2 separate regions of the Homo sapiens genome follow, and region 2 is linked to region 1. The links are contacts of gene promoters, found by promoter capture Hi-C in blood cells and fetal thymus (Javierre and others, 2016). All regions are on one chromosome and are shown on one strand. Each heading gives the region's core, a stretch centred on a gene start or on the middle of the fragment in contact. The rest is flanking DNA. Distances are from core to core; before and after follow the strand shown.

What was found. The method cuts DNA at HindIII sites, captures the fragments that hold promoters and counts their contacts. A CHiCAGO score of 5 or more calls a contact.
Region 2: a fragment that was not itself captured here is called in contact with the fragment with the promoter of GXYLT1 in region 1 in 1 of 17 cell types (activated CD4 T cells); the score reaches 5.6 in activated CD4 T cells.

Annotation. Positions count from the first base shown.
Region 1 is chr12:42,142,940-42,146,650 of GRCh38, reverse strand. It overlaps GXYLT1 (glucoside xylosyltransferase 1), which reads left to right and starts at 1,777. Exons shown (of 8, transcript NM_173601.2): 1 at 1,777-2,225. The coding sequence starts at 2,005. RefSeq lists an enhancer at 1,350-1,419 and silencers at 1,580-2,079, 2,160-2,389. The HindIII fragment of the contact is 13,899 bases long and covers 1-3,711 here.
Region 2 is chr12:42,305,377-42,309,087 of GRCh38, reverse strand. LOC124902921 (a long non-coding RNA gene) reads left to right here and starts at 2,536. Exons shown (of 2, transcript XR_007063280.1): 1 at 2,536-2,614. The HindIII fragment of the contact is 691 bases long and covers 1,574-2,264 here.

The sequences.
Region 1 (3,711 bases), core at 528-3,027:
GTGTAAGGTGTAGTGGAAGTATTAATTTAGTATACTTGTGGTTTCTATTTGCCTGTTTTCCCTTTGAGAGCAGTACACTCCTTTTATTTCTGAATACTCTGCATCAGAGCCCCTTGTCTGGCATGTAGAATATGTTCAATAAATGTTTATTGAATGCATAAATGTATGTTCTCATTCTCTTTACACATCTTGATAGCATGCTAATGTTCATTTTTTATCAGGTAAAGCAAGAAGGGGAGGAAGTTGAACCTTAAATTTGTTTAGTGACTTTATCATGGTCACAGAACCACTACTTTTTTGGTATAGGGAGCCAAGGATCCAAATGGAGACTGCTACTATTTTGCGCAGCATTTCCCCACCTTGTATCTCATGGCCAAACTTTTCAACGCCCCAGATGCAATTTCAGCAGTTAAACGCATGATTTTTCCCCATGAATGTGTGTTCGTGTGTGTGTGTATTTTTAAGTATCCCTTCCCTCACTTTTTGGCACTGGTGCTGCTTTCTGCCTCCAATCTCTCCTCTCTCTGTTTCAGCCTCCACACTACAGCCAGAATCTGCTCTCTAAAATGCAATTGTGATCATGTTACTTCCCTATTTAAAAACCCTTCAATGGTTCACTAATGTCTTGCAGATTAAATTCAAACTCCTTGGTGTGCTAAACAAAGCACTCAAATATCTGGCCCCTTCTACGCGCTTATCGCTCATCATACCCTCTCTTGCATTCACTTAGCTGGTGGTATCAAACTTCTCAACAGTTCCCTACACAAGAGCCTGTTTATTGATCCTTCAGCCTGGAATTACTTCCCTTACCCGACTCAAGACTCTAGCGCCACCTTTGCTATGAAGTCTCTCTTGACCATACTCACAGATAGAACTGATTGTTCCTTTGTGTGTATGCCCACACCCTTACAGGCCTGGATCTTAAGTCTGTTATCACTGCGTTGCGCTTATTTACAAGTATCCGCTGTCCCACCCACGCTCCACTTAGGCCTCTTTATACCCCTAGGTACTCACACAGAGCTTGGCACAAGTGATGCTTTATAAATGGTCAATGAATGAACGTAGTGGAAACACAGAAGAAGAGGGAGAAGAACTGGGGAAGAAAGAAGCTCTGTGGAGAGAATACTAATTGTTTTGCACATGAAAATAATGAGTTGTGAGGGAGGTCAAAAAGGTCAAAGGGAAGAGCCCTGCCTTACAGGAACTCACTGTCTGCTGGGAGGCAAGAGGTAAGGTCCGCATACCAAACACACGAAGCAATGAGCTTATCGGGGTGAAAATGGCTCGTGCACATTATAGTATCACAGAAACTTAGAGGCTGGGGGAGGATGGAGAGGAAACTGGCCTAGTCAAGTGTCTTCTAAGTGTTAGGCGGTTTTCGAGCGTTAAACAGTTTAATCTTTACAACCACCCCATGATGAGGATAGTAGCTCCATTTTAGGGACGAAGAAACATGCTCAGAGAATTTAGGTTGCCCAATGTCACAAACTACCATGTGGAAGGACCATAATTAGAATTTAGGTCAACTGCCTCCAGAGCCCTGAGGCTTTCGCTCCCCCTCTCTCGGCGGTCGAGACCCACAGGGCTCCCATTCACCTGCGCGTCGGCCTGCGCTAGCTATAGCCCTCAGGCGCGCCGCGTTCCGCGCACTCACACCACCCTCTGCGCGCCAGCCCTGCGTCCCTCCCACGCGAACTGCGCCGGCGCGTCCAGCCCTCCCGCCCGGGGGAGGGGCGGGGTTGCGTCGCTGCCGCTGACCCTTGAGCGCGCGGCGGCAGAGGCGGTGTCCAGGCTTCCGGGCGGGTAGTCCTTCGGCTCCGGAGCCGCGACTGCGCTCGCCTAGGTGGTGGGCGGGGAGGGAAGGAAGGGAGCGGGCGCAAGGCGGCGGCGGCGGCTGCGGGTGAGGAACTTGTTGCGCCCGCGGCTGCGCGGTGCCCCTCCCTCCGCTCCAGTTCGTCGGGGCGGGCGCGGCGGCGGCGGCGAAGGAGGAGCGCGGCCGGGGCGATGCGGCGCTACCTGCGCGTCGTGGTGCTGTGTGTGGCCTGCGGCTTCTGCTCGCTCCTTTACGCTTTCAGCCAGCTCGCCGTGTCCCTGGAAGAAGGAACGGGCGGCGGTGGCGGGAAGCCGCAGGCCGCGGTGGCTTCCTGGCTCGCGGGCGGCGGACGCGGCGCCGTGAGAGGCGCCGGCGTCGCGGGCCCCGCAGCGCATCCCGGCGTGTCGGACAGGTACGGGCAGTTCCCGGTGTGGGGGACGCGGCGGGCGCGGGGCGCTGGGCGCGGGCTCGGCCTAGCCCGGGCTGCTCGCCGGTGGGTGCCGCGTCTCCCGCGTCTTTCCTCCTGTCTCTGACCCCTCACTCATTTCCCTCCTTCCCCTCCGGCCGGGGCTAAACCTGCGCTGCTCCCGCCTGAGAGTGTCCTACACTTTCTGTGTTTATCTTTTGACCCAGTCATGCGCCCTTTAAAGCAGTTAGAAATTAATTTTCAACTTTTTAAAAAGAGGGTTCTTTGAAAATAAGAGGTGTCCACAAAAGCCTTACTGCTGCCTGGCTAGTGAGAATTTCCTCTTGTTTCAGTGGAGTTCAAGTTGAGATATTTAAACATGAGGCTGGCGCCCTAGTTCAGTGTTTAAGGATTGTGTGTGTGTGTGTGAGTGTATATGTGTGTGTATTTTGTCCCTCATGCTGATTTTCCTGTGTTAACGCTTACACTTCTAAGTATTAGCCATGGTTAGTTAAATTTGGAAATGGCATTTGTGCGGGTTGTGAAATTTTCTTTTGGAAACACTCAGTTTATTAAGAAACTTAGAGCAAATTAAGAAAAATGAGCGATACTTGGCGTGCTCAAGTCTGTTGTTGGATGGGATGGAGTTACCTTTCTTGACAAATTGGTATTTAAAAAGCGACGTAATGACTTAGGACGTAATCACTGCCAGAGTGGGAATCAACATGAGATTTAAATAGAAAAAAAATGTTTCTGTCAACGCATTATGAATGCTTGAAATCTGAGCGTTTGCACTGCCTTGCAACATGGACACTTCCACCTTATGTATGGGCATCTCTCTGGGAATGACCTGAAGTGCTCCCTACCAAGACTTGGCAAATGCTGCTTTGATATAGAGAAGTATAGGGTTTGTCGGAAGAGGGAGTATAGATCAGTTGTGGGCTGTTGTTTAACATCATTTTGAGAGTCGATGGTCATTCCCAGAATGAAAGGGGAAAGTTTGGGCAGAGGAGCAGCGTGGAAAGCGGACTTGTCATGTTTTTACCCTGAGATTTGATTACAGTCAGGGTAATTCCTACATCAGGACCCTCAGTTGTCTGTCCTGGGAGAAAGCAGTCACTGAAGACTTGAATGAGCTCGTGAAAAATGACAGGTTGAAGCTAAACTGTTTATGGCCTAGTATGTTATTGTGAAGCATTTGCAATTATGGAAAAGGAATTATTTTTATATGGGGTAGAATTGTAAGGAAGCAACATTTTAATTAAATATTGAATGAAATTAGACTGATGTTAACATCACATTTTTAGTGCCTTGGTCTTAGATATTTTATTTTGTGACAGAAATTTACAAATTTTGTTTGCTTGACCAGCTAATTTTAATAAAATTATTTGAAATTTTCGAAAATAGCCTCAGTTTTAATAAACATCCAATATAATCATTACTGAAACGTTAAGTTTTATGTGTCAGGATTGAGTCAACCGAAATACTGTAC
Region 2 (3,711 bases), core at 670-3,169, 160 kb before region 1:
TAATATTTGTATTTTTAGTAGAGACGGCGTTTCACCACGTTGGCCAGGATGGTCTCGATCTGCTTACCTCATGATCTGCCCGCCTTGGCCTCCCAAAGTGCTGGGATTACAGGCGTGAGCCACAGCGCCAGGCCGTTTTTTTGTTTTTTTTTTTTTTTTTTTTTTTTTTTTTTTGACAGAGTTTCACTCTTGTTGCTCAGGCTGCAGTGCAATGGCATGATCTCAGCTCACTGCAACCTCCACCTCCTGGGTTCAAGCGATTCTCCTGCCTCAGCCTCCCACGTAGCTGGGATTACAGGTGTGTGCCATCATGCCTGGCTAATTTTCTATTTTTTTAGTAGAGATGGGGTTTCACCATGTTGGTCAGGCTGGTTTCGAACTCCTGACCTCAACTGATCCACCTGACTCGGCCTCCCAAAGTGCTGGGATTACAGGCCTGAGCCACTGTGCCAGGCCAACTTGGTAGTTTCTAATAAGTACTTGTCTAGCAGAGAATGCCCTTCTTGCTGGATATGACTAATGGTTTTTTGGGTTTTTTTTTTTTCCTTCTGCAGTCATTTATTTACTCATTGCTTTTTTGACTAGATGCCTTATTCTGAAATTGTCAATTACAGTTTTCAGATTATCATGAAATTCAATTATGCCCACATATGACATTTATAAATTTTGCATGTTAATTTATTCCTTTGTTTTATATGCTAAAGATGTGTGTTTATATATGCCAGGTGTGGTGGCATGCACCTGTAGTCCCAGCTCCTGGAGAGGCTAAGGTGGGAGGTTCCCTTGAGACCAGGAATTTAAGTCCAGCTGGGCAACAGAGTAAAACCCTGTCTCTAAAAAACAAATAAAAGTGAATTTAAATAATATTTTTGGCCAGGTGTAGTGGCTCATGCCTATAATCCCAGCACTTTGGGAGGCCAAGGCAAGAGGATCTCTTGAAGCCAGGAGTTCAAGACCAGCCTAGGCAGCAAAGTGAGACCCTGACTTTATAAAAATAAAAAATAACTGTTTTTAATTTAAAAAATTAAAAACTATGTTTTAAATGCTTAAATATTAAAACCTTGATTACCATACCTAGAAAAGTACTTGAAAGCTTTACATAGAATATGCCATAGATCAGTAACTTAGGTTCAATCATTGATGGAGGGCTGGAAATGTAATTTTTAAAGTGGGGAGAAAACTATTGGATCATATAACTAAGTCATTCAGCTTCAGAAATGGATAAAAGAGATAAAAATATAATTAGAAATCTATTTTTCTTTGTCTTACCACCGCTTTCCTCTGTACTTCCTTTATTTCTCAACAAGCTTTCTTCATATGGTGGTAGAGATGACCACCAGTATCTCTAAAGGTAGGAATCCCAACAAAGAAAACCCCTTTCCCAGTGGTCCCAGCAAAAGTTCCAAGAAAGCCCTGATTGGCTAGGTCTCTGTCACAGTCCCCATTCCTGGAAATAAGGAAGAGAGTCAGTCCCACCCCGACTACATAGAGTGAAAGTGTTCCTATGCAACGCGGGATCTATTTTCAGTTTGGAATCAATGTGGAAATTATCCTGTAAAAAGAATCTTAAGCTTAAAACCCTCCTTTCAACATTTCCCAGGGCAGAATACTGAGACGGCTGAGCAGAGCACACAAAGAAAATAAAGATTCAGCCTGGGCGCAGTGGCTCACGCCTGTAATCTCAACACTTTGGGAGACTGAGGCAGGTGGATCACCAGAGGTCAGGAGTTCAAGACCAGCCTGACCAACATAGTGAAACCCTGTCTCTACTAAAAATACAAAATTAGCCGGGTGTGGTGGCCCATGCCTGTAATCCCAGCTACTTGGAAGGCTGAGGCAGGAGAATTGTTTGAACCCAGGAGGCGGAGGCTGCAGTGAGCTGAGATCATGCCACTGCACTCCAGCCTGGGCAACAGAGACTCTGTCTCAAAAAAAAAAAAAAAAAAAAAAGAAAGAAAGAAAAGAAAAGAAAAAGAAAAAAAGGAAAAGAAAGAAAAGAAATATATATGGAAGAAAGTGAAAACCTCCTTGGAAAGCAGTGTGATCAGCACTATTACTTAAACTAACAATGCGAACAGTGGCAGTCAGACTGAGCCCTCAGTCCAGAGAATGGGAGTAAGCCACTATCAATTGTTTTAAAACACTCCATCTATAAGATCCAAATTTTAAGAATCCTTATATACTGCTATAGATAAAGACAACCAGTTAACATTTTTAGTTAAGATATGGCACCTAGAAATAAGCAGACCAGAAACATAAAAGCTTTTATAGAAAGCAGATTCCTGAAGTGCATGTTGCACTTTTCATCAGCACATCTTTGCAAGATGCATGGCTTCATGTGAAACACATAATCTTGTTTTTTCATAGAGATGGTATAGTTTGGTTAGAGCCTCATAAGTATATTTAAGATAAGTTAAATACTAAAAATGGCTTTTAACAAATTATCTGAAAGACAAATTATATCACATATTTAGCACTATGTTTCAGGCACTGTTCTAAACACATTATAAATATGAAATAATTGAATCCCTTTTAGGTATTGTTTTCATCATTATACAGATGACAGAACTAAGGCACAGAGAGGCAAAGTAATTCACCCAAAGTCACACAGCCAGTAAGTAGCACGATAACGTTTTAAATGCAGGGTACAATGTATGTTATTTTGGAGATGGATACACAAAAAAGCCCTATGCATGACTTACCAAAAATAAATAAATAAATAAAATTTAAAAATAAAAGAAAAAGGCCAGGTGCGGAGGCTCATGCCTGCAATCCCAGCACTTTGGGAGGCCGAGGCGGGCGGATCACCTGAGGTCGGGAGTTCGTGACTAGCCTGACCAACGTGGAGAAACCCCGTCTCTATTAAAAGTAGAAACTCACTGGGTGTGGTGGCGCATGCCTGTAATCCCAGCTACTCGGGAGGCTGAGGCAGGAGAATCACTTGAACCCAGGAGGCGGAGGTTGCGGAGCCGAGATCGGGCCATTGCACTCCAGCCTGGGCAAAAAGAGTGAAACTCCGTCTCAAAAAAAGAAAAGAAGAAGAAAAGCCCTGACTTCACCACTACTCAATATATACATGTAACACTTGTACCCCATAAATTTATACAAAGAAAATTTTTAAAAATAAAAGAAATAAAGCCAAGCAAACTTGCTCTAGAGTCGATATACTATCTCTATGCTATGATGCTTCTCTAAAAAAGTACTCAAATTATATGACTGGCCAGGCGCAGTGGCTCACGCCTGTAATCCCAGCACTCTGAGAGGCCAATGGGGATGGATCACCTCAGGTCAGGAGTTTGAGATCAGCCTGCCCAACATGGCGAAACCCTGTCTCTACTAAAAATACAAAAATTAGCCAGGCATGGTGGCACGCGCCTGTAGTCCCAGCACTCAGGAGGCTGAGGCAGGAAAATCCCTTGAATCCAGGAGGTGGAGGTTGCAGTGAGCAGAGATCGTGCCACTGCACTCCAACCTGGGTGACAGAGCGAGACTCCATCTCAAAAAAAAAAAAAAAAAAATATATATATATATATATATATATATATATAGTACTGCCTTATCAACTAGGAGATGGTGGTTTTAAATTTCATTTTACGTGCATAAGAATAACAATTTGTTTTATTATATCTTAATGATTTTTCTGTAGGTGGAAACATTTTTGGAATAACCAACAAATTTTAAAGTTAAAAGACTAAATCTATCATGCCCTAG